7 separate regions of the Homo sapiens genome follow, and regions 2, 3, 4, 5, 6 and 7 are each linked to region 1. Evidence: promoter capture Hi-C in 16 types of primary human blood cells and fetal thymus (Javierre and others, 2016). All regions are on one chromosome and are shown on one strand. Each heading gives the region's core, a stretch centred on a gene start or on the middle of the fragment in contact. The rest is flanking DNA. Distances are from core to core; before and after follow the strand shown.

Evidence for each region. The method cuts DNA at HindIII sites, captures the fragments that hold promoters and counts their contacts. A CHiCAGO score of 5 or more calls a contact.
Region 2: a contact is called between a fragment that was not itself captured here and the fragment with the promoter of ATOSA in region 1, in 4 of 17 cell types (fetal thymus, naive CD8 T cells, total B cells and 1 more). The highest score is 6.7, in fetal thymus.
Region 3: a contact is called between the fragment with the promoter of GNB5 here and the fragment with the promoter of ATOSA in region 1, in 8 of 17 cell types (naive B cells, total B cells, naive CD4 T cells and 5 more). The highest score is 7.8, in naive B cells.
Region 4: a contact is called between a fragment that was not itself captured here and the fragment with the promoter of ATOSA in region 1, in 1 of 17 cell types (non-activated CD4 T cells). The highest score is 5.3, in non-activated CD4 T cells.
Region 5: a contact is called between a fragment that was not itself captured here and the fragment with the promoter of ATOSA in region 1, in 8 of 17 cell types (naive CD8 T cells, M0 macrophages, M1 macrophages and 5 more). The highest score is 6.8, in naive CD8 T cells.
Region 6: the fragment with the promoter of MYO5C here is called in contact with the fragment with the promoter of ATOSA in region 1 in 15 of 17 cell types (endothelial precursors, M0 macrophages, M1 macrophages and 12 more); the score reaches 23.3 in endothelial precursors.
Region 7: a contact is called between a fragment that was not itself captured here and the fragment with the promoter of ATOSA in region 1, in 6 of 17 cell types (total CD8 T cells, non-activated CD4 T cells, naive CD4 T cells and 3 more). The highest score is 10.0, in total CD8 T cells.

Annotation. Positions count from the first base shown.
Region 1 is chr15:52,677,502-52,681,195 of GRCh38, forward strand. ATOSA (atos homolog A) reads right to left here and starts at 1,887. Exons shown (of 13, transcript NM_001385016.1): 1 at 1,327-1,887; 2 at 505-621. The coding sequence starts at 520. It overlaps LOC105370821 (a long non-coding RNA gene), which reads left to right and starts at 2,104. Exons shown (of 4, transcript XR_932255.4): 1 at 2,104-2,192. RefSeq lists enhancers at 583-652, 783-922 and a silencer at 1,503-1,822. The HindIII fragment of the contact is 2,387 bases long and covers 147-2,533 here.
Region 2 is chr15:52,166,433-52,170,126 of GRCh38, forward strand. All of the region lies in intron 3 of GNB5 (G protein subunit beta 5), which reads right to left. Among named protein-coding and RNA genes, the nearest start is that of CERNA1, 12 kb to the right of the region's middle. The HindIII fragment of the contact is 5,734 bases long and covers 1-3,694 here.
Region 3 is chr15:52,189,825-52,193,518 of GRCh38, forward strand. It overlaps GNB5 (G protein subunit beta 5), which reads right to left and starts at 1,568. Exons shown (of 13, transcript NM_016194.4): 1 at 1,498-1,568. MYO5C (myosin VC) reads right to left here. Exons shown (of 41, transcript NM_018728.4): 41 at 2,498-3,694. All of the region lies in intron 2 of CERNA1 (competing endogenous lncRNA 1 for miR-4707-5p and miR-4767), which reads left to right. RefSeq lists an enhancer at 1,666-2,165. The HindIII fragment of the contact is 7,593 bases long and covers 1-3,114 here.
Region 4 is chr15:52,214,881-52,218,574 of GRCh38, forward strand. It overlaps MYO5C (myosin VC), which reads right to left. Exons shown (of 41, transcript NM_018728.4): 32 at 3,639-3,694. Among named protein-coding and RNA genes, the nearest start is that of GNB5, 25 kb to the left of the region's middle. The HindIII fragment of the contact is 5,613 bases long and covers 1-3,694 here.
Region 5 is chr15:52,270,805-52,274,498 of GRCh38, forward strand. MYO5C (myosin VC) reads right to left here. Exons shown (of 41, transcript NM_018728.4): 6 at 1,776-1,919; 7 at 959-1,040. Among named protein-coding and RNA genes, the nearest start is that of MIR1266, 4.5 kb to the right of the region's middle. The HindIII fragment of the contact is 8,241 bases long and covers 1-3,694 here.
Region 6 is chr15:52,294,097-52,297,790 of GRCh38, forward strand. It overlaps MYO5C (myosin VC), which reads right to left and starts at 1,708. Exons shown (of 41, transcript NM_018728.4): 1 at 1,514-1,708. The coding sequence starts at 1,540. It overlaps LOC105370819 (a long non-coding RNA gene), which reads left to right and starts at 788. Exons shown (of 4, transcript XR_932250.3): 1 at 788-1,115. RefSeq lists a silencer at 1,372-1,531. The HindIII fragment of the contact is 736 bases long and covers 1,008-1,743 here.
Region 7 is chr15:52,328,226-52,331,919 of GRCh38, forward strand. It overlaps MYO5A (myosin VA), which reads right to left. Exons shown (of 42, transcript NM_001382347.1): 35 at 2,128-2,274. Among named protein-coding and RNA genes, the nearest start is that of MYO5C, 34 kb to the left of the region's middle. RefSeq lists an enhancer at 3,523-3,652. The HindIII fragment of the contact is 349 bases long and covers 1,515-1,863 here.

The DNA of each region.
Region 1 (3,694 bases), core at 637-3,136:
TATATTGAATACTGGAGTACTCTGCAAACTTTTGGAGTTTGCTTAAAGCACAAAAATCAACTAATCAAAGTAGTAATAAAATAACAGTTGTCAACTCAAGCTTAAGTTTTCTCTTCATTTTATCAAGTTCACATTCAAGTTTAAAAAGCTTATGAACTTCTTGAAAGTTGAAGTTAGATTGACTACCTAAAAACGAGCAAGTACAACTCTAAAATGATACCTGTATTGTGGCAACAGATACAAATACCATTCTTTACTTTCATTTTGAGATACACTAGAATCTCTCTTGAAGCTAGTGCTTCAGAAGCACTTTTGTAAAAACGCTTAACCTTCTCTTCCATATGCCTTTCTCTACCTCACCAGCTGGAATCTGTCACAAAAACAGATAATCACATATGATACAGAAATAGTTGATCCTACTGCAGAATTAGGTTAACACTTCTAAATTGAGGCATAGAAAAGAAGGGGGTGGGGGAACAAGCCCTACTTAAACAAATCATTTACCTCGGTCTGGCTTCATTTTCACATCCAATTTTCGCCCAGAGTGCTGTGAAATGCACCTGTGGGTTCTTTCAACAGGCTCGCCGCTGATTCTACGGCTTCTGCTTCGCTTTCAAAATGCTGAAAGAGACAAAAATAAAATTAATCTGGCCCTATTCTAATACCCGGACCTTGCAAGTAAACTACTGTTAAGTTAGGCCTCTTCCTGGCACCAACTGCGGTGACAGCACCCTCGGCTGGTCTGAAAAAAGCAAAACTCTCTGCACCGCCTCCCCCATCTCCTCCGGATCGAGCACCCCCTTCCCTGCCTCTGTGCTCTCCAGGCCAATGTGTCCTTCTGACACAGTCTCTGAACCAAAACAGGATCTATTTATAACCTGGAGGTACAGGCAAGAAGAAGAAAAAGATTTGAGCAACACAAACTAACCCCTTCGTACAAAAACGCCTCTGGAAACAGAGGCACCTCCGCAGGGCTGGTATGGAAATTCTTCCACCTGGTGCCTGGGCGCAGCCAACTCTTCCAGTCCCCTGCGCCTCCCGAGCCCTCCGCCCGCCCCGCCGGGCCTCACCTGTGTAATTACCCTCTGGCTAGCCTTCCTGCGGCAACCGCGGCCAAGTTTACACAGAAACCCGAGTCACCTCCTCCCGCCCAGCCCCCAGCCCCAAACGAACTCTTCCGGGCTGTCCCGGGGCGACCCTACCAACTCCCAACCAGTCCTCCGCGGCCGGCTCCGGGGGAGGTGTTTACAGCCTGTGCTCGCCCCCTGCTCTGCACAACCCCTTCCGTCCCGCCGCGGCCCCGGATTTCCTTCAGCCCCGCCGCACCGAGCGCCGCGTCTGCCCCTCTCCCCGCTGGAGAGTTGTTTTCATGGCGCTCTCGAGCTGGCCGGCTCCTCCGCTCCCTCGGCCGACCTCTGCTGACTAACTCGCTCTCCTCTCCCGTCCCAATCCCGCCTCCTCTTGGCACTTCTCTCCACCGCTCGCCCAGCAGCTCACATCACACTCCCACCTCAGACCCCAGGCTCCGAGAGGCGCAGGGCCAGCGGGAGCGGAGTATGGAGCGCAGCGGCCCCCGCGGCTGCCTCAGGTGACCGTGGGGACCCGAGACGACCAGCCCGAAGCGGCTCCCCGGCGCCCCTGTGGCCATCCACCCGCGCCTCAGCCACCGCCTCGCTCCGCTCCCTGCGCTCAGCCCCTCCGCCCTGCCTGACTGGCACCCGAGCCCCGCGACCCCCGGGCTTCCCCCGCCCGTAGCCCCGGCCGGCCCTCTTGCCCAGCGCCTCTGCCAGCTCCTTGCCCGCCCGCTGTCTCTAGCTCTGGCGCCCCGGCTCCCCGTCCCCCTCGCTCGGCCAGTTCTTTCTCTGCTGTTTGCCCTGTCAAAACACTGCCTAGGTCACGTGTCCCAACAACAGCCAACCCACCCCGGTCGTCACTTCCTCCCCGGCGGCCTCCGCGGCCCTGGCGCCCGGTTACTATGGCAATGCCGCCGCTCGCCCCGGGGCGCTAGTTTGGGGCCGGGTTTTCGGTGCAGGTGCCCGGCGGGTGCGAGGGCGCTGGAGATGGCGGCTGGGAGACACCAGCAGAGTCCCGGAAGCCCGAGACGTCCCAGGCACTTCGGTTGCGCTCCCAGCCGGCAGAGGCGCGCCTGGATTCTGAGACCAGGAATCGGAGCTGCGCTATTAGAGCGCAGGGTAACTGGGGAGATGTCATCCAAAGGCCTGCCCCAGACGTGGAGGATAATTATAGTCGTCGTCTCCTCCTCCTCCTCCTCCTCCTCCTCCTCCTCCTCCTCCCCCCTCCCCCTCCTTCCCCCCCTCCTCCTCCTCCTCCTCCTCCTCCCGGGATGCTGGCACAGAGTTGTGATCGAGCCCCAAGTGGATTGCAGCGCATAATGGAACCCGGGTTTAATGTGACCGGGACGGGGGGTGGGCAGCTATGCGGGTCAGGGAGTGGGAGAATTTAAGAACAGGAAGCCCACCCCCACCCTAGATTTTCCCAAATCACTAAGGATTTTAGTAGGATTCAGAACCCAAGCTTCCAAGACACTCGCTGTGCTAAAAATAATCTTCATAACTTCTAAAACACTGACTCATGGGCAGGAGGACACTTTGACAGCATGTTATTGTTGGGGAGCTGTAATTTTGTTGTTGTGCTATAGCAATGTGACATGATGGCATTTCATGTTGTGATGTTGTCGTCATTTAAACACAAACAGATGACAGGAATCTGCTGTACTTAAAAAAAAACCCAATCCTAACAAGCGCTGCAGCTATTAGCTACTCAGTCTATAGACAAAGTACATATGGGGCATGAGCCCAAATGGAGACAAGTAAAAATTTGCAAGGCTCTTTGGTTTCATTAGAAAAAGTTTTTTTTTTAGATATAATTTTGCATAAAAGGATCACAGGAAAGTATTAGGACAAGTCTAAGGGGATTTTTTTTATTTGTGCCCTTCTGTTTTAAAATTTTTTTTACAATGAGTCTATTATTTTCACATCAGAAGAGTTTTATAAACTGCAAGATTGGCAGTTCCATTTTTTTGGCCTCAGGTAAAGTTCTTATGAAAAAGGCATGAAATATTTAAAAAGTAACATTTTCTAGTGCTTAGATATGTACAGTAAAATAACATGTACAACTGAAATTGTTAACCTTAACTCCACGATTGTATCTAATCAGAGCGGAGAGAACATTCAGGAGGGTAACATTTCATTTTCTCTGAAATGTTCTGGCATCATGACGATGAAACTGACAAATGGAAACAGTTCTTTAATCTATAAAATGCTACAAATGTTAAATCCCAGTGGATTTGACTTTGATATTATTGAATACTGTATTATGTAGTTTTTAAAAAATGAACTGAAGTTTTACTTGTTCTACAAGCACTTGGTAATGGGAGACAGAACAGTTACAGATAAGCCAAAAACCTAAATTTAGCACAACAGCTGGGACCAAATAACAGCTATTGTAAAAGGCTTACTGGGTGAACAGGCAGCAAAATCTGGTTTAGCTTCTTTCTTCCTCTATCTAATGCAAAAGAGGTAAAAAGACCAGGAAATGTTGAGAGCAGAAGCCAAGACTATTAGTGTGTAGCACAAACTATTCTCTTTTAAATAATTTTTAACAGCACTTGGGTAAATGATGATGTCAACATTTGTTAGACTAACCTGAAGTTTTTTTAAATTTAGAATCTTAA
Region 2 (3,694 bases), core at 785-3,284, 510 kb before region 1:
TGGAAGTAAAACTCTCCTTAGTAAATGCAAAAGAACTGAAATCATAACAGTCTCTCAGACCACAGCGAAATCAAATTAGAACTCAAGATTAAGAAACTCATTCAAAACCACACGACTACATGGAAATTGAACAACCTGTTCCTGAATGACTCCTAGGTAAATAATGAAATTATGGTAGAAATCAAGAAGTTCTTTGAAACTAATGAGAACTAAGAGACAACGTACCAGAATCTCTAGGACACAGCTAAAGCAGTGTTAAGAGGGAAATTTTAGCACTAAATGTCTATATTAGAAAGCTAGAAAGATCTCAAATCAACAACCTAACATCACAGCTAAAAGAATTAGAGAACCAAGAGCAAAAAACCCCAAAGCTAGCAGAAGACAAGAAATAACCAAGATCAGAGTGGAACTAAAGGAGATAGAGACATGAAAAACCCTTCAAAAAAATCAATGAATCCAGGAGCTGGTTTTTTGAAAAAATTAATAAAATAGATAGACCACTAGATAGATTAATAAAAGAGAGGAGAATCAAATAGACACAATCAGAAATGATAAAGGGGATATCACCACTGACCCCACAGAAATACAAACAACCATCAGAGAATACTACAAATACCTCTATGCACATAAACTAGAAAATCTAGAAGAAATAGATAAATTCCTAAATGCATACACCCTCCCAAGACTGAACCAGGAAGAAATGGAATCCCTGAATAGGCCAATAATGAGGTCTGAAATTAAGGCAGTAATAAATAGCCTACCAACAAAAAAAAGTCCAGGACCAGACAGATTTACAGCTGAATTTTACCAGAGGTACAAAGAGGGGCTGGTACCCTTTCTTCTGAAACTATTCTAAACAATTGAAAAGGAGGGACTCCTCCCTAACTCATTTTATCAGGTCAGCATCATCCTGATATCAAAACCTGGCAGAGACACAACAAAAAAAGAAAACTTTGGCCGAGTGCAGTGGCCCACGTCTGTAATCCCAGCACTTTGGGAGGCTGAGGCGGGTGGATCACCTGAGGTCAGGACTTTGAGACCAGCCTGGCCAACATGGTGAAACTCTGTCTCTACTAAAAATACAAAAAATTAGCCGGGCGTGGTGGCAGGCGCCTGTAATCTTAGCTACTCAGGAGGCTGAGGCAGGAGAATCGCCTGAACGCAGGAGGTAGAGGTTGCAGTGAGTCAAGATCATGCCATTGCACTCCAGACTGGGCAACAGGAGCAAGACTCCATTTCAAAAAAAAAAAGAAAAGAAAAAAGAAAACTTCAGGCCAATATCCCTGATGAACATTGGTGCAAAAATCATCAATAAATGATTCCCAATACTGGGAAACTGAATCCAGCATCACATCAAAAAACTTATCCAACACTATCAAGTTGGATTCATCCCCAGGATGCAACATTGGTTCAACATACACAAATCAGTAAATATAATTCATCATATAAAAAAAACTAAAGAAAAAAACCACATGATTACCTCGATAAGACAGAGAAAAGGCCTTCAATAAAATTCAACATCCCTTCATGTTAAAAACTCGCAATAAACAAGGTATTGAAGGAACATATCTCAAAATAGTAAGAGCCATATATGACAAACCTACACCGAATATCATACTGAATGGGCAAAAGCTGGAAGCATTCCCCTTGACTGGCACAAGACAAAGATGCCCTCTCTCTCCACTCCTATTCAATATAGTACTGGAAGTTCTGGCCAGGGCAATCAGGCAAGAGAAAGAAACAAACGGTATTCAAATAGGAAGAGAGAAGTCAAATTATCTTTGTTTGCAGATGACAAGATCCTATATCTAGAAAACCCCATCGTCTAAGCCCAAAAGTTTCCTAAGCTGATAAGCAACTTCAGCAAAGTCTCAGGATCCAAAATCAATGTGCAAAAATCACTAGAGAGCCAAATCATGAGTGAACTCCCATTCATAATTGCTACAAAGAGAATCAAATACCTGGGAATACAGCTAACAAGGTAAGTGAAGGATCTCTTCAAGAACTACAAACCACTGCTCAAGGAGATCAGAGAGGGCACAAACAAATGGAAAAACATTCCATGCTTATGGATAGGAAGAATCAATACAGTGAAAATGGCCATATTGCCCAAAGTAATTTATAGATTCAATGCGATTCCCATTAAACTACCATTGACATTCTTCATAGAATAGGAAAAAAAACTATTTTAAAATTCACATGGGACCAAAAGAGAGCCCATATAGCCAAGATAATCCTCAGCAAAAGGAACAAAGCTGGAGGCATCAGGCTACCCAACTTCAAAATATACTACAAGGCTACAGTAACCAAAACAGCTGGGTACTGGTACAAAAACAGACACACAGACCAATGGAACCGAATGGAGAGCTCAGAAATAAGATTGCACACCTACAATCATCTGATCTTTGATGAACCTGACAAAAACAAGCAATGGGGAAAGGATTCCCTATTTAATAAATAGTGTTAGGAGAACTGGCTAGCCATATGCAGAAGACTGAAACTGGACCCCTTCCTTACACCTTATACAAAAATTAATGCAAGATGGATTAAAGACTTAAATGTAAAACCCCAAACTATAAAAACCCTAGAAGAAAATCTAGGCAATACCAGGCCGGATGTGGGGGCTCACGCCTGTAATCCCAGCATTTTGGGAGGCCAGTGTGGACGAATCACTTGAGGTTAGGAGTTTGAGACCAGCCTGGCCAACATGGTGAAACCCCGTCTCTACTAAAAATACAAAAATTAGGTGTGGTGGCGTATGCTTGTAGTCCCAGCTACTTGGGAGGCTGAGGCACTTGAATCACTTGAACCTAGGAGGCGGAGGCTGCAGTGAGCCGAGATCGCACCACTGCACTCCAGCCTGGGTGACTGAGGCAGGCAGATCACCTGAAGTCAGGAGTTTGAAACCAGCCTGGCCAACATGGTGAAACCCCGTCTCTACTAAAAATACAAAAAATTAGCTGGGCATGGTGGTGGGCACCTGTAATCCCAGCTATTCAGAAGGCTGAGGCAGGAGAAGAGCCTGAACCCAGGAGGCGGAGGTTGCAGTGAGCAGAGATCACGCCATTGCACTCCAGCCTGGGTGACAAGAGCGAGACTCTGTCTCAAAAAAAAAAAAAAAAAAAAAAAAAGAAAAGAAGAGAAGAGAAAAAGAAAAAAAGAAAAGAAAGAAAAGAAAAGAGGTAAAGAGGAAAACCTAGGCAATACCATTCAGGACATAGTCATGGGCCAAAGATTTCATGACAAAAATGCCGAAAGTAATTGCAACACAAGCAAAAATTGATAAATGGGATCTAATTAAAACAAAGGGCCTCTGCATAGCAAAATAAACTACATCAGAGTGAAGGGACAAACTACAGAAGGGAGAAAATGTTTGTGATCTATCCATCTGATAAAAGTCTGATATCCAGAATCTACAAGAACTTAAACAAATTTACAAGAAAAAAAACCCCATTAAAAAGTGGGCAAAGGACATGAACAGACACTTCTCAAAAGAAGACACTCATGCAGACAACAAACATGAAAAAAAGCTCAATATCACTGATCATTAGAGAAATGCATATCAAAACCACAATGAGATACCATCTCATGTCAGTCAGAAAGGTGATTATTAAAAAGTCAAGAAGTAACAGATGCTGGTGAGGTTGCGGAGAAAAAGGAATGCTTCTACACTGTTGGTGGGAATGTAAATTAA
Region 3 (3,694 bases), core at 318-2,817, 490 kb before region 1:
TATTGTATGATTTATTTATATGAAGTGTACAGGATCAGCAAATCCATAGAGACATGAAGCAGATGAGTAGTTGCGAGGTGGAGGGAAGAGAGAATAAGGGGGAAGGAGGGAGCTGAGAGTGAGTGGCTGCTTAAGGGGTATGGGATTTCTTTTTCGGGGTGATGAAAATACTCTGGAGTCAGTGGCAATGGTTGCAAATCCTTGTAAATAAACTTAAAAAACACTGAAATATATGTTTTAAAATGATGGGTTTTAAAACATGAAACAAAACGTGGACATCATATCTCAATAAATTTTTTTTTTTTTTTTTTTAGACAGAGTCTTGCTCTGTCGCCCAGGTTGGAGTGCAGTGGCGCAATCTCGGCTCACTGTAAGCTCCGCCTCCCAGGTTCATGCCATTCTCCTGCCTCAGCCTCCCAAATATCTGGGAATACAGGCGCCCGCCACCTCACCCGGCTAATTTCTTGTATTTTTAGTAGAGATGGGGTTTCACCGTGTTAACCAGGATGCTCTCAATCTCCTGACCTCATGATCTGCCCGCCTCAGCCTCCCAAAGTGCTGGGATTACAGGCATGAGCCACCGCGCCCAGCCCAAAGATTATTTTTAAAATGGACAAAAGGCTTGTGTAGTCACTTCACAAATGAGGATACTTATATGGTCAATAAACATATAAAAAGGTGCTCATTATCATTAGTCATCATAGAAATACAAAGTAAAACTACGATGTGATACAACTACTTAGCCATCAGAAAACCTAAAAAGCCTGACAACACAAAGTGTGGGCAAGGATGCAGAGACTGGAACTGCCTTTCTCTGCTAGTGGGAGTATAAGTCGGTATAACCACTGTAGAAAACTGGTTGGTAGGAGCTACTAAAGTGAAACGGATATAGTCTATGACCAGGCAATTCTACTCGTGCATACATACACCACAGAAAATAATGCTTATTTCCTTAAAAAAAAAAAAAAAAAAAAAAAAAAAAAAAAAAAAAAAACATAAATGTCATAGCAGCTATTCATAGAAGGCCTAAACTTGAAAGACCCAAATGTTCACCAGTCACAGACGAAACTGTGAAATGAGCATAGAATAAAAAATAACTGATACACACAATGTGGATGTATCTCAGACTTACAACTAAAAACCTCTTTCTAACCCCATAAGCTGTACTCAGAGGCTTATGTTGCCATGTGTCACCTGGATCAAATTTTAAAACTGACTTAGTGATTTTAAGTATGCTTAATCTCTTTCCTGATGCCAATATTAATGTAAAAAATATTGAAATATTTCAATTTGAAATATTTGAAATTTACTATTTCAAAATAAATTCATGTGTATTGTAGAAAAATTAGATTCTACGGATTAACAACAACAAAACCCCTCACCCATGCTCCCACCGCACAGAAAGACCTGCTAACACTGTGCCCTGTACTCATCTGGATGCTTTTCTGAGCATTTCAAAAGCTGGAGTATTTTAACCGAATGTCAGCATGCACATACCTTCCAGAGTCAGCACTGGGAGCCACAGAGCAGATGGTGAGAGGTGAGGACCAGCGCGCAGCTTGAGGTGTGAAGCACGTCTCCCACTGGCTAATCTCCTTATCTTCTCTGGAGTGCTGCTCAGCTTGCTTCCTTCCTCCACAGCACTTCCATGCTCCCTGCTGGGCACGCACTGCCATCTGCATCCCTCACTCACCCCTGGAACCTGCCCAGCCCCTCTGTGGAGGGAGGCCTTGGCAGGTTTGACCTCTGTGTCTGCGCCCACTCACTGAGCAGCCCTCACATTCACCTGGGCCACATGTTCTTAACATTTCTCTATTTTGGTCTCCTTGCCACTGTCAGCTTTGTAGAACTGATCAAGACTGTGGGATGAGTGCCTCCCTTTCCCCATTTTTCCACACATAAACTCCTCAGCCTCCACAGGTCTCCCTGTCCCCAAACATGACCTACTTTTTCCCATGGTTGACTCCCCACCACACACACACAGTCCTCCAACGGGACTTTGCTCCTTCAGTTCTCTTCCCACCTCATCAGCAGTAGGATGAAGGCAGGGATGAGGAGGATGTGGCACCTGCCCTCTGGGGCTCACAGGCCTACAGAGGAAATGGGCAGCATTTCTGGCTTCCAGTCCAGGGTAAGTGCTATAAAACAGGCATAAATCCTGAGTTATGGAAGCCGAAAACCAACAGTGATGGCTCCTCATGGTGTGGGGAAGGTCTAGAAAGGGCATGGAGGCCGCAGCTCAGGATCAGAAACCCTGCCAATTCTCTGCCAAGTAGCCCCTCATTCTGACAGTGTGGAAGCGCCCTGGAGACACAGCCTAAGCCAGCACTTATGACATATTTACTTCTTCTCTAAACATTTTAATATACTTTAAATGAGATATTATGAATCTATAAAGATTCTAGCATCTTTCAGTATGACCGTAAAGAAAGGCATACAACTTGTACACTTAAGAGACATGTCATCTCCTCGCAATGAAAGAATCTGACCCAATTCATTTGGTAATTAATTTTATTGATTAAAGTATTACAAAGTTCTACTTTTCATTTTTTCATGTACAATGTATTGAAATGAACTAAACTCAATCACTTATAATATAAAAAGACATTATTATGTATTAGCAGGGTGATGCTTCATAATCATGTATTATTCCTACCTCTAAGACACCAGTCTGTATTATAGAATCACAGCTGTCACCTGTGACTGTCAGAAACAGAAGGTGCAATTGGGATTCTTAGGTTGGTGACAGAATAGCACTGGATCCACAGGCCAGAGACTAGGAGTGCTTATCAAATGAGGTTTTAGGCTCTGAAAGGAAGGAATGAGAAGGTGTGCCGGGACAAGGAATAGCCAGTTCCCATAAAACTTGGGAAACGTAGATTTCTCAAAAGTAGGGTCCGACACAATTTTTTAGTTACTTTTTGAGAAAATTTAAAAATAAATACATTGAAATGCTGATTAGAGAGCGAAAGTAATTTAGGTTGCTTTTTCAATCTGAGGTTGTTTTAAAAAAGTTATTGTATGAAAGGTATTAAAAAATAAAAAAATTATGGTGAATATGTTGGCAGGTAAGATTTGAAGTTCTTTCAGAGAAGATAAACGGCATGGCAATTAAGCTTTAATAATATATTAGTTTTAAATAGATATACATATAAAAATACTTCAAATGATTCATCTCGGATTGAACACTCTTAAAAATTAAAAGGGTCAGCCGGGCGCGGTGGCACACGCCTGTAATCCTAGCACTTTGGGAGGCTGAGGTGGGCGGATCACGAGGTCAAGAGATCGAGGCCATCCTGGCCAACATGGTGAAACCTGTCTCCACTAAAAATACAAAAATTAGCTGGGCGTGGTGGCAGGTGCCTGTAGTCCCAGCTACTCAGGAGGCTGAGGCAGGAGAATTGTTTGAACCCAGGAAGCGGAGGTTGCAATAAGCCGAGATCATGCCACTACACTCCAGCCTGGCGATAGAGCGAGACTCCGGAGTCTCAAAAAAAAAAAAAAAAAAAAATTTAGAAGGGTCTAAAATAAACATTTTTAAATGCAGGGCATTTTCAGTAAAAAGAGTTCATGAAAACCTTCTGTCCCCAGCAGGCATGGGGCAAGAGAACTTTTGGCAGGTCACGGTGGCCAAACGGGATTTTTTCCTGGAAGACTCAGCACTAGAATCCACTTGCAGCTTTGTAAATGTACT
Region 4 (3,694 bases), core at 1,195-3,694, 460 kb before region 1:
TTATTACTCCAAAAATAAAACTGACCTTTAGTGTCACTCTCTAGTTTCTCATTACCTTCCAGCACCTGGCAACCACTCATCTACTTTCTGTCTCTATGGATTTGCCTATTCTGGACATCTCATATAAATAAATTCATAGAATAGGTTTTTTGTGTGTGTGTCTGGCTTCTTTCACTTAGCATAAGGTTTTCAAAATTCATCCATGTCGTAGCATGTATCAGCATTTCATATATTCGTATGGCTGAATAATATCCTATTGTATGCATATACTACATTTATCTTGCTCTTATTACATAGGAGTGCCCATCATAGAGAATTTAAAAATATGAATGTGGGAAAATGGGCTTTCTAGATTTCAGAAGCTGGAGCTAGAGAAATGTTCAGAGATTTGGGCCTGGTTTTGCCTTTCTTTCCTGATAAGTAGGTGGCCTTGCCCATGCTGAATTTGGCTCAAGAACCAGAAGAGTCCTTGGATACCTAGAAATATTTCCTATAAAGGACATAGTGTTTAAGTTCTTCCACATCTGAGCATTTGACACATATAGAATTCAGGCTTCTCTGACCCAGAAAGACCCACCATGCAGGGTCACTGCAGCTGTGTGCCCTCTAGGGACTCTTGGGGCCGAGGGACATTGTGCTGTTTCTACTCTGTGCGGCCACCTCTCTCCCTGCCACCATTCTGTGTCCCTGGCTAGACATGTTAGGAACTCTATTGACCTTAGAAGTGGCGGTGTCAGTACAGCTTCCTCCCTCCAATTCAAGCCCATCTTATAATATATCTAATAAAATGGGTCACCCATCAACCCATAACCCAGAAAAAAACCACTCTTCACATTTTGATTTCATTCCTTTTTTCCCAATATGGTAAATGTACATTTTATAAAATTGGGATCATATTACATGCAAAATTTCAAATCCTACATTTTTCTCTAGTTATACTGCAGACGTTTTCCCATGTCATTGATAATATACTCAAACCATCATTTTAACAGCCAAGTCATATTATATCATACAACAATTTAACCTTTGCTCTATTGTTAGGTATGCATTTCTCTCCTTTGGGTTGCTTTTTTTCTCTATGATTAATAACACTAAGATGATCACTCTGAACAAAAATCTCGTCCACATGTTCAAGTATTTACTTAGGATAGAACCTTACAAGTTGTGTTACTGAGTCAAAGGGAATGTACTTTCCAAAGGTTCATGATCCATACCTTCAAATAAGCCCTCAAGAAAGTTTATACCAATTTATATTCCCAGCAACCATGTATGACAGTGCCCATTTCAAGATGTTCTCTCCAGCAGCATAAGATCTCTATTAATTATTATTATTATTAGTAGTAGTATTTTTAGAGACAGGATTTTGCTCTGTCATCCAGGCTGGAGTGCAGTAGTGTGATCATAGCTCACTGCAGCCTCAATCTCCTGGGCTCAAGCAGTCCTCTTGCCTCAGCCTCCTGAGTAGCCAGAGCTACAGGCATGCACCACTATATATATATTTTTAAAGTTTTCCTTGTAGAGATGGGGTCTCACTACGTTGCCCTGGCTGGTTGAACTCCTGGCCTCAAGTCATACTTCTGCCATGACATCTTAAAGTGCTGGGATTACAGGCATGAGCCACTGTGCCAGGCCCAGGTCTCTGTTAATTTGACAGGCAAAAATAGTACCTAGTTTTGATTTTGAATTTCTTTGATAAATAGTGAAATGATTACTAAAAGTTTTTTTTTAATCTCTTAATAAGAATTCAGTGACAAAAGAGTCTGGAAAAAAAAAAGAAATTTCTTTGACTCAAAGCATCACATAGTGGTTTGAACAGTGTCACCTTGAAATTCATGTCCAACCCAAACTCCAGAATGTGCCTTTATATGGAAATAGGGTCTTTGCAGCTGTGGTAAGCTAAGGGTCAGTATGAGAGGTGGCTACTACAATTTAGGGTGGGCTGTAAATCCAATGCAGGTGTCCTTATAACAGATGGAAAAGAACACAGAGACAGGGAGAAGGCCAGGTGCAGAGAGGCAGAGGCTGGAGTTACACTGTTCCAAACCAAGGAATGCCTGGAGCCCTCTAGAAGCTGGGAGAGGCAAGGAAGGGTTTTCCTTAGAGACTTCGGAGGAGTGTGCCCTGCTGACACCTTGACTTCAGACTTCTGACCTCCATAATTGAGAGAACACATTTCTGTTGTTTTAAAGCACCTGGTTTGTGGTCATTTGTTACAGCAGCCCTGGCAAACTAATACAGATCAGGTCTCATTTGTGGGTAGAATCCGCCGGCTAATGTATAGAGATGATACTCTTGTTGTGTGTCCGTCTGCTTCTATGTAACAGTGAGGCTACTCCGGGTTCAGAAAGAGCTATTGAAATGAGCATGTCAGGCCTGCCAGCTCCTTAGCTCAGCGCACCTGTGGGGAGCAGAGCCAGACACTTGGAGGAGCTCCAGAAGAGGGCGCCAGGACCGAGCTGTGCTCCAGGGCACCAGGAACGAACTCATAAATCCGTCACAATGCACAGGGACAGTCAGAGTAAAGGATCACATGGGATGACATGCGCAGCACACACATGACCCACCCATGTAGCTTCTCCCTGACCGCTGACTCCATTGAGATCCCAGGGGCCCACAGGAGGCAAGGCAAGGCAAGGCAGCCTCACACATGGACAACAGGCGGTTGCTTCTCTGTTGTAACACGAGGATTCCAGTCTCTGAGAAAGTTGTATCCACCTCAGAAAAGGCAGCTGTCATGTAGGTGTCACTGATTGGAATTTGTTACTTCCTATTAAATGTCAAACTCCTGGAATTTCTCTTTTTGGATGTAACCACTCTTCAAAGTTAAACCCTGACACTCAAAATATGTTTTTCCTCTATCAAGGTTTTCCTGTGAGATTGGAAATGGGGGCCCTGTCAGCAGGGAGAAGGGTACGTGGGCATGTCCACACTGACCCACTGGACTCGTCAGCCCTCCTGCGTTACCCTCTTGGAAGCTGGAAGCTCTCAGGTTTCGAAGGGGCCCGAGAGGGTCCCAGCTCCTAGGAAAGTGGCCTGTCACTTCAGCACTTCTCAGTCTTCTGGGTTCCACACAGCATCACAATTTCAAAATAATTGCTGGGAATTGATGTAAGGTTACCCGATTTCATTTTGGTAAGGGCATTTAAAACTCAGAAAAGACCTTAAACACTTTTAAAAAGTTTTTAAGCCTTCCATCGACATCATGATCATTTCATAGAAGAACATTTTGACTCTAAAAATTGTAGGAAGGCCATACCCCCAGAAGAAAGCATGGGCACTTATATGGGGTGAGTTTTGCTGGGTAAAGCACTCACACGTAGGCCTTGCTATCCTCAGTGTGTTCCAGAGCACAGTGACTCCATCCTGGGTGGTGCCGTGCACTGATAGTGCTGGGGAACTACGGCCTGCACCTCTCTGTCTCTCCTCCTTCACCCTCCCCAGGCGGGCCTGTAAGTCCCCAAGGCCTTCCCAAAGCCAACCTCAGAGACCACCTGTCTTTTGGGATAAGAAAACAGACTGCTCTGATGGAAGGACTTTTGGTCTATAGATGTTAATCATATGCTTTAGGTGGCATGTCCCCCCTTTCAGCAACATCTGCACACAGACAGTCTTTATCACCAAGTTAGAAGACTTCTCACCCTGTTTTCCAAAGTGAGCCGGGATGCTTCCTGCCGGAAGTTACACTTGACTTCAC
Region 5 (3,694 bases), core at 676-3,175, 410 kb before region 1:
TTACCTTCATGTGAAATCTGGAGAAACTTAGATTCTAAGAGTACAAGCAACTTCTCCAAAATTAGAGAGTGTGAGTTCAACTCCAACATACTAGAAGTTATCTCCAACAATTCTCATCTACCAGCATAGCACAAATGGCTAAGGCAGGAGAGCTGTGACAGCACGGGGCTCGGGGCCTTTTGTACTGAAGGACAAACAGCCCTATGTTTTAGCCATCTCTGGAATATAATTAATTATGACTACAAGTAATGAATGACCTTGAGCCATCAAGGAAGGTCAAATTATGATACAGGTGGTTTGTTTTAATAAGTGGGTTAACATGTCATGTTCAAATAAAATGGAAAGTTTGGTGACATCATATGTTCCAGCTGTCAGGAGGTCTTATTCAGGTGGTTCTAGCTGGAGGACCATAAATACCCAATGAGCTATTTTTTTTTTTTTTGAGACGGAGTCTTGCTCTGTTGCCCAGGCTGGAGTGCAGTGGCGTGATCTCGGCTCACTGCAACCTCCATCTCCCGGGTTCAAGCAATTCTTCTGCCTCAGCCTCCCAAGTAGCTGGGACTACAGGTGCGTGCCACCACACCCGGTTAATTTTTGTATTTTTAGTAGAGACAGGGTTTTGCCATGTTGGCCAGGCTGGTCTCTAACTCCTGACCTCAGGTGATCCACCCTCCTCAGCCTCCCAAAGTGCTGGGATTACAGGTGTGAGCCATCACGCCAGGCCCAATGAGCTTTAAAAATAACCCTCAGTCTTACAAGTGCCCCCTCTCTCTAAACTCATCCCCCCGGCCCTAATCCATCCCCTTAATTAGATGCACCAATTCTGTCCCTGAAACCAAAGAATCTTGTATCTTTGGGCAAATACTTAAAACAAATATATTACTATAAGAAGAAAGTTAACCTAGAATTTAAGCCCTCCATAAAAGAGAGACCCTTTCATACACGATCCATCACATACCCAATTTAAGATGTTTAAATTCCGACTGCTGTGCAGATGCACAAAGCTGATAGAAAATGTGGTAATTTCGTTCATTTTCCGACTGTAAGATAAAGAAATGTCCTCAAAATTACACCAAATCCTTACAAGCAAAAATGCCAGGTTTTTAACTAGAGGGTCCTAGATATCTAATCCGCATGGATAATTCTCTGTCTGGGATGTGATCTGGCCAGTTCACAAGCAGGCCCTTCCTCTCAGCTGAGAACTGGGTGGCCTGAGATGGCCTTCCAAGTAATGAGCAACCCAGAGAAAGTGTTATTAAATGAAAACGTCCTATGAAATGGGAATGGCGTAACTCATCCTAGTGAAATTTTTACAAACTTCCTGCAATACAAGGCTTTCTGTTGCTCTCCTCCTGGGCCAAAACGATGAGAAATTTCTCCATTTACTGGCAGAAAAGCCTTTCTTTTAAAACCCCCTCAATAGCTCTGATCCCATTCCCTTCCTGATAGGAAAGCCAGTCTGTCAGCTTAGCCTATTTCAAACAGTTTTCGTACTCTAGAAAGAGATACTTGCTTTTTAAACTATAAGGATTTTGTAAATCCCCCAAATTAAAAAGTCATTAACCTTTTCCTGCAGACATACAACTCACCTGATATTACACCTATTCATCCATCAATTTTTAATAAACAGAAAAAAGAATCCAAACTGCAAATGAAAGACAAGAAAACCCTACTCTTCAACTCACAGCATAGTGTAGCTTGCCTGAGTATGTATAATAAGTATGTAAATGTAAATAATGCTCAAAAAGTTGGGGAAAAGGAAATTTAATACTTACTTGAAAGACAACTCTGGATTTCTCCAGGAGGTAAGTGCTCATGTTGGCTCCTATAATTTGATTTTGTTCATCAAAACTGATTTCTGTGTATTTCCCAAACCGACTACTATTGTCATTGCGGGTGGTCTTGGCATTTCCAACGGCCTAAAAAAAATAAGACTCTATTGAAATAACAACATTAAAAGATTTTTGCCTCAAAATTATTGGAGGGGTTTTTAGTAAAAGGCAATCCTGTACCCTAGGGGAAGGTCTGATTGGCAGAGGGAAGTCTGGGGAAAGAAAGCAACCCCACGCTGGCAGGGAACATGACAAATCAGAACATGAGCCTGCTGCTCAAGGTTCTCCTTGGTCCCACTGGCAGATACTGGGGAGGACCAGAAAGAGCACAGGTTCTGATGTTTCAGGGTCCTGGGTTCTATCTTTGCTATCTGTGTAATGTCTTAAAAGTTAATTCACTGGCTAGGTGCAGCGGCTCACGCCTGTAATCCCAGCACTTCAGGAGGCTGAGGCAAGAAATTCACTTGAGGCCAGGAGTTTGAGACCAGATGAGGCAACACAGTGAGACCCCCGTCTCTACAAAACATAAAAAAAAAATTAGACAGGCATGGTGGTGTGTGCCTGTAGTCCTAGCTACTCAGAAAGCTGAGATGGGAGGATTGCTGGAGCCCAGGAGTTGGAGGCTGCAGTGAGCTATGATTGCACCACCGCACTCCAGCCTGGGTAACTTAGCGAGACCCTGTCTCAAAAACAGACAAACAAAAAAGTTAATTCATCTTTCCAGGTCTTAATTTCCCTATCTGTAATATGAGAATCATAAGCAACTCACTGTTATGGACTGAATGTTTGTGTCCTCTCAAAATCTTCATGCTGAAATCCTAACCCTATGTATTGGTATCATAAGGTGGGCCTTTGGGAAGTAATGATGTCACGAGGGTGGAGCCCCTGGGAGTGGGATTTTAATGCCTACATAATAGGGATCCCAGAGACCTCTCTTGCTCTCTTTCTGCCATGTAAGGGTACCGTGAGAAGACAGCAGTCTGCAACCCAGAAGAGAAGCCTCTCTAGAACCTGACCCCTGCTAGCCCCCTGATCTTGGACTTCCAGCCTCCAGAATTGCGAGAAATAAATTTCTGTTGTTTATAAGCCACCTGGTCAATGACACTAAAGTATATTATACTAAAGTACATTATATTTATTATTATAATAGCAGCCCAGACTGACCAGAACACTTACAGAGTAGGGAGGATTAAATGAGAGAATATGAGGTGCCTCAACTCATTCAGGCCCCAAATACCTATGATGCTCAACTAGAAGTTCACATCTTTCATCCAACCTTTATTCCAATCCCTACTCCTTACTGCTTCCCTACTCAACCTTTCCACTCAACCAAAAAACTGCTCCTTCCCATCCCTCACACTCTCTGGGCAGGATTTTTGCTTTTTACTTCTGTTCTTCAATTTCATCTCTCCTCTGCCCCTCCCCACCCTCTCCTGAGCACCCTGTTTCTAGATGACCCAGGTCATCATGCTGCCTGCCAACATGTCTTTACTGAGCACCTACTATGTGCCATGCGCTCGGTAAACAAAGGTAAACCAAATAGATACAGTCCCGCCTTCATGGAGTGTGCAGTCTAGTAGAGGAGACAAACCCTAAATATTTACACAAAATTATCCACTGGGCATTTAACTTGGCACTGGCTCTTGATAACTTTTATTTTGAGATGGGGTCCTGCTCTGTCATCCAGGCTGGAGTGCAGTGGTGCAATCTTGGCTCACTGCAACCTCCACCTCCTGACTCAAGCAATCTTCCTACCTCAGCCTCTTGAGTAGCTGGGACTACAGACATGTGCCACTATACCTGGCTAATTTTTTGTATTTTTGGTAGAGATGGGGTTTCATCATGTTGCCCAGGCTGGTCTG
Region 6 (3,694 bases), core at 458-2,957, 380 kb before region 1:
TTTCTTACATTGTGCCTGGTACTTACTAGACATTTAATAAATATCTGAGGTTTGAGGCACCTAAAAATAGGGGTGCTTGCACCTGTGTGTTTCTGCTTCTGGAAATACTGTCACCTCAAATAGGTTCAGCAGCAGCATTTTTCTCTGTCCTCCAAAGTATCGTCGAAGACTAGTCCAAGACTTTTCTTTCACTTCCAGTAAACTGAAGGCTGAAGAAGCGCTGTTGGCTGTCTGAGGGCTCACAGTCTCACTGGTGAAAATATTCTAGAACAAAACTAGGGCAATTCAAACACTGTCCATTTAGAACTCCAGTTAATGGAGATGCAATAGAGGAGAAACTACAGTTCGGTTGCTTTGTGTCCGGACTGTTACTAAGTAATCAAAGTAGAAGAAAAACGTTTGCTTAAACCATTGAAACATGATTTTTTAAATAACTATCTTTTCTATCTACAGCAAAAGCATCTTTTAAAGTAGAAAGCTAGAGCATGTGTCCGGGGAAATGGATGGATTCTAGTTCCACTCGTCTGAATACTGAGGTCTCTAGATTTCCCCAACTGGTGTATAGGAGGATCAGGCTTTATGGCTATTCAAATGGATTTTTTTTTTCAAAAGTGCTAACACTGTCACACTCTTTATCCAAATAATTACCCAAGCCCATCTCAGAGGGTTTGGGACATATGTGGGAACGCTGCCCTTCCGAGGTAAGAGGTGGAGCCCCAGCCAGCAGAAAGGAAGCTTCTGAGGAATGCTCTAGTGTTTCCCAGAGTCAGGGTATATGAAAGGCGCTTTAGAAACTGTGGTGTTTGTACTGTTGCTAACAGTACAGATGTTAGGCAAAGAGCCTACGACTGCACCTCGTGGCCCCTGGGCTCCCCAAGCGCTTGGTGCCACTGCAGTGCCCTCAAGCCTGTGACCCAGGCTGCTTCAGCTTCTGATGAGCCTACATGCACGTTCACGCACTTTGAAGACACAGAATTCTAGAAAGCAGCCCGAACACTGCGGCCATAAGCTTCTATGCCAGCTCGTTCAAGGGGGTCCCAGGAGGGGCCAGGAGACTGGCCGGCGTCTCAGCTTCCTACGTCCGCATGGGCAACTCTGATTCCACCCGTGGTGTGGTAGGAAGGGACCGAGGCGCTCCAGTCCCGGGAGATGGGGACGCACGCGCGACCCCTGGGCACTGGGGATTCTAGGCCCCGAGGCCGGAGCGGCGGAGGGGGCGGCCCCTCCCACAGGGTCTTCCCACCCACAGGGCACCCAGGCGCAGCGGAGCCAGGAGGGGGCTTACCCGCGGGCAGGGACGGAGCACGCCGGGGCCCTGGAGGGGCGACGCTCGCTCGTGTCCCCGGTCCCCGTGGCCCCTCCGCGGCGCCTCCGCGGCCCCCAGCGCGCGCCCGCCCGCCCTGCCGTGTCAGGTGCGCAGGTGTGGCAGGTGTGGCCCGGGCGCCAGGTCGAGTCAGCGTTAGCAGGGCCGGCTCCCCCACAGCGCTCCCAGGAGCCCAGCGGACCCTCCTACCTGCGTGTACAGCTCGGCCACCGCCATGGGCAGGAGGGGCCGGGGCCAGGCCGGGGCTGCCGAACGTGCGAGGCTCGGGGGCTGGGCCTGCGCCGCAGAGGCCGGGCGCAGGAGAGACCGCCGCGGAAATCACCGCCGGGCCATCTTGCCCAAAGTTTTCCAACGGCCTCCTGTTCCCGTTCCCGAGTTGGCGGCGAGGGGAGGGGGCAGCGGCGGGATTGGTCCCTCCAAGCTTGGCCCGGCTAGTCGGCGCTGCCATTGGCCGGGGCCGGGCGGCTGCACCTGGCGGGAGCGCGGGTGGAGAAGGTTGGGGCCCGGGGCGCGCTGCCAGGCAGGAACAGATGCATCCGGAGGCTGCCCGGCCCGAGTGTTAGCTCCTCAAAGAGCAGAGGATACGACCATTTAAATGGAAGACCCAAGGGAATCAACGTACTGAACACAAAGAAATGTGTTAAGAGTCCAGCAAGGTCATCGTATTCAAAATCAAATACAAAAATAAGTAATGGTCCTTTATATGAGCATTGTCTATGCAATACAAGATATTTACAATATTAGTGAAAATATAAAGTATCCAGAGATTACACTCGCAAAAATGCCCTTGGCCTTTGTGGAGAAAATGTTTAAAATTCTCTTAAAGAGCTTAAAAGAAGGCCCAGGTAAACGGGAGACATGCCATTTTCCTGGCTGGGAATATTTAATATGGTCAAGGTGTCACTTCTACCCAAATCAATATATATGCCTAATATATTGGCGTCAGAATCCTACAGAACTTTTGGAGAATTGTACAATGATTCTATATTTCATATAGAATAAAAGCCCTGTATAACTAAGACAATTCTCAAAGAGGAGAGATTTGTCCTGCCATATATTTAGGGACATAACAAAGCAGTAGTCATTAAAACAGTGTGACACTTGCGTGAGAACGGATACGTGAGTAATGGAACATGCTGGAGCCCCCCAGCAGGGCCCTACATTATACGGTAGCCTTAAGGACCAGATAGGGAAATAAAATAATATTTATTAGATGGGCCCGTTATATGGAAAAACAATAAAAGCAGATCCGTGGCAAACACTGCATCCAAAAATAAGCTCCAGATGGATTCACGATTAAAACTTAAAACCGGGAAATTATTAGGAATAAAAGAGGGATAATATCTTTAAAATGTTGGGTTATAGTAGTTTCCATATAGAAGAATTGTTAATCGGTTAAAGAAAAGAAATCCAATTTTTAAAACTGACAAAAATTAATAGGCAATTCACAGATGGGGACACTTAAATGGCTTGTTAGCATACAAGGAGATGTCAACTTTAGCAGTAATCAGATAAATACAAATGAAAACAACAATGAGATATTGCTTTTTACCCATCATATTGGCAAAAACATTTAGGTTAGACAATCTCAGATACTGCCTAGGATGTGAGAAAATAAAAACTTGGCCGGGCGCGGTGGCTCACGCCTGTAATCCCAGCACTTTGGGAGGCCGAGGCGGGCGGATCACGAGGTCAGGAGATCGAGACCATCCTGGCTAACACGGTGAAACCCCGTCTCTACTAAAAATACAAAAAATTAGCCGGGCGAGGTGGCGGGCGCCTGTAGTCCCAGCTACTCGGGAGGCTGAGGCAGGAGAATGGCGTGAACCCCAGGGGGCGGAGCCTGCAGTGAGCCGAGATTGCGCCACTGCACTCCAGCCTGGGCGACAGAGCGAGACTCCGTCTCAAAAAAAAAAAAAAAATAAATAAAAAAAATAAAAACTTTTTTTGCTTACATAACTGGTGGGAATATACTGCCATCCTGGAGAGCAATTTGAGAATAGTTATGAAAATAAATGTAGGCAGAAAAATTCTCACAGTCACCCAAAGAGACAGTTAAGTAGATGTTCATCACAACATAGTTATTTATCAAAGAGTTGGAAGCATCTAAATATCAATAGGGGAATAAATAAAATAGTATATACATGGCAGACAGCAGAGAAAAATAAAAAAAGAAATAGTATATACATGTAAAACTCTACAGCTGTTAGTAGGAATAGACATGATCTACTTGACTCAGAAATAAAAAACAATGTTGAATAGATGTCTAGCCCAAGTCTTTAATATTTAAAAACTCACAAAAACTGCAATACTGAATATTGTTCATGGGTACAAGTATGTGTGAATAGAGGTAAGGAGGATAAATTACAA
Region 7 (3,694 bases), core at 439-2,938, 350 kb before region 1:
TTTTCCCTTGAATTCCAGTCTCACTATCAACTACCTTCTTGACAACTCTGCTCAGGCACATGAAACTAAGCCTCTCCCAAACCAAATTCTTGCTTCTCTAAGGAACCTACTTTTTTGGAAGTTGTCCCCATCTTAGTAAATAAATAGCAGGTCTAGTCTTCCAGTATCCTAGATTACAAACCTCATCCTCATTTTTGACTCCTTTCTTTTCTCATACCACATATCCAATCCATCAACAAACCCTGTTGGCTCTATCTACAAAATACATCCAAAATCCAGCTACTTCTCACTGCTTCTACCAGCTACAGATGTCCCATGGAGGCCACCATCATCTCCTGCTGGGCTGCTGCAATAGCTCCCTAACTGGCCTCCCTAATTCATCTCTTGCTCCCCAGTACTGCATTTTCCATACAACAATCAGGGCCATTCTTTCGGAAAATGTTGGTCAGATCATGTCACTCTCGTTCTGAGAATCCTCCAAGCAGCTTCTCATGTCAAGCATTTATAAAAGCCAAAATCCTCACCATAGCATAGGATCTGGCCCTATTCCCCTTCCCCACTCCAGCTCACTCTGCTCCAAATGGGTCTCCTTGCTGTTGGTTAAACATGCCAGGTATGCTCCCTGCCCTGGGCCTACGTGCTTACTGTTTTTCTGCCTTGAATGTTCTTTCCTCAGATATTAGCATGACTTGTTAGCTTACTTCCTTTGGTGTCTGTCCAAAGATCACCTTACCAAAGAGTGTTTCCTGACAATTTTACACAAACCAGTATACCTGCCTTCACTCTTTATTCTTTTTACTCCATCATATATTTGTTTATTTTATTTTCTTTATTTCTCCCCTGGAATGTAAACTCTGTAAGACTGGGTACTTCACTTTGCTCATTACCTAGAAAATGCTTGGCACATGATAAGAGTTCATTAAACATTTGCTGAATTGATAAATCTGTTAATTCTTTGCTGAATTGATAAATCTGTTAATTCTATGCTTAAAAACCAGTGGCTCCTTAACATTTTTGCTAAATGAAATTCATGTTGAAACTTAAGCACCTGTGCAACTATATATAGTACTAAGTTTAATGCCAGGAACATTCCATCAGGTATAAGTGCCAATCACACTGCTGTCACCCTGGCACCTGGCGGGAGGAATGCTGTGCAAAGGCTGAAAGGAGAGGTTTTTAGGATTTTCACTTCACAACTTACGGTGTGTACACTCTAATCATTTACCACCACCCTCTAAAAAGTTTTCTTGCAAAGCCAGCAGGCTCAGACCCAATCTTAAAGGCAGTGTGCTGCCCTGAAATGCTTCTTCCACTCTCATCTCATTTATTCTGTCCATTCCTTCCTTTGTTAGAATCTTTTCCTTTTTTTGTTTCTTCCCTATTATTACACTGCCGTCCTTGACCTATTTAGTTGCAAACCTTTCTAGGGGAGTAAGGAAAAACTGAAATTCAGGAACCTAAACGGCCTAGAGCAGTTGTGCTCAACTGTGGTTACACTTGAGAATCCCTTAAGAAGCTTTTTATTATTTTTGAGAAAGACTCTTGCTGTGTAGCCCAGGGTGGAGTGCAGTGGTATAATCACAGCTCACTGTAGTCTTGAACTCCTGGGCTTACATGATCCTCCCATCTCAGCCTTTTGAGCAGCTAGGACTACAGGCATGTACCACCTCGCCTGGGTAATTTTTTTTTTTTTTTTTTTTTTTTTTGGAGAGATGCGGTCTTGCTATTTTCCCGAGGCTGGCCTTGAGGGTTTTTTCTTTTTCTTTTTTTTTTTTTTAAAGTACTAGACATTGCCAGGCTCTTCTCTCTAGAGATTTTGATTTAACTGGGCAAGAGGGAGAGAGATACATCAGTATGGTTCAAAGCTTCCAGGTGATTCTAATGTGCAGCCAGGGCTGAGAAGACCTGATCTTGAGCAATCCTTGTAGGTGGGTCTGAGGCATGTGTCCCTGCAGTTGGACTGAAAGTGCTTGGTGTGGTCAGAACACTACTGCAGCACTAGAATACATGGTATCTGATGATGACTAATGAAACCTACGCTGAATATCTCAAAAATTAGTGACTAGTTTTTCCCACCATTAACCCATGTGCCAGAAGGAACTTTTATCCAATGCAGAAAATACTTGCCCAGAATCAGGTTCTTAACAAGTTTTTGCTCATCCTCCTTCTTGTATTCCAGCATCCCTTGGAAATCCTTTTCTTTCCTGGGAATGTTGACTGGTCGGATGGGTTCATCAATGATCTGTCCTGGGGATATGTTCTCCATCTGGCCCACTTTATGAGAAGTAAGAAAGGAGGAGAAAATGTTTTCCATATAAAAAACATGAGAGGTCTCCAAGTTCCTATAATTTTGAATGCATTCTACAACAACCGAAACTTGCCATATTTGCCACTTAATTGCCTTCTCTTAAAATAATTTTTTTCTGTTAAAATTGGGTGAACAGATGGCAAAATTATATGGTCATCTTACTCTGAAAGCCACTCCTGCCTAACTGTAAATTAACATCAAATAACCTTACATGACTCAAAACTTTTTTTTATGTAATAAGGCTTACTTTTTAATAAGATTAAATGTCCAAAAAGTAAGTGGTTTAACAGATTTGTTAATTAATTGATACTAATCAGAAATGGTTAAACATATTTTGACTTTAATTCACAGGAGGAACAATCAATATCCTACAAAGGGGCAGAAGGAGCAGAAACAATTCCCCCTTGCTCTTGGCTCAATGACTTTAGCCATTAAAAGCAAAAGAACATTTACTTTAAATGTATCATTACAATCAATTCAAAACACATACAGATAGCTGGTAGAAGAGTGTTTCTTCATACCACTTGGTCCAAAATGTATTATTTTTCACAAAGGCCTCATATGGCAAAGACCTAATTTTCTCCTGCCATCCTCATTCCCAGAGAAATCATGAACAGATAAACTATCTCTATGTAGTATGATTTCCTAAATGTTATTATTTTTTATTTCTTTTTAATATAATGTTAAAAATTCTACTTATAAAGTTGCAATCAATGAAGTACAACCACTGGTTTACAATGCTTTCAGATGTTAAAAATAGTCACTATTGTCAAGGGCAGCAGCTAGAGAATTATGCTAAAGGTTAAAAAAAAAAGTCTCCAATTTCATCTCAAAATTGAGACTTGAGTGGGAAATCCAACAAAAAGTAAAGGGACATATGAGTTACCACAGCCACTGTGGAGATACACGCTAGTAACCAGGTTTTTTATCCTTTTATCTACAGGGAGGGAGAGTGGTTAAGAGATTTGTTTAAGGGCAGATTAAGTTTGAGTTCTGAGATTGCTGTCAAACAAAATGCAGATCAGATGCAAAAACATTAGAAAGCTTAATATTGCTGACTCCACGAGGTGTCAGTAGTGCTTCTTGTGTCACTCTGGGTAATTTCCTGGGTTAGTTCTGAGAAGCCAGTCCCACAGGAAGAGGTTATCACAGAGAACATCAGTACCTGCCAGTGCTCTTGCTTATGTGGCATGGAGCCTGGTGACACACCGTCCACCTCATGCTGCAGCAGCACACACTGGGACTATCAGCGCTGAAAATCTGGTTTAGGTGAAGTCACCACCATCCAGCAACACTATGATATCTAAAGAGTGGTCAGATTGTGATTGGACAGATCAGGGCTACGGCCATCTCCCATAATCTAGTTTTTCATATGCATGATCCAGT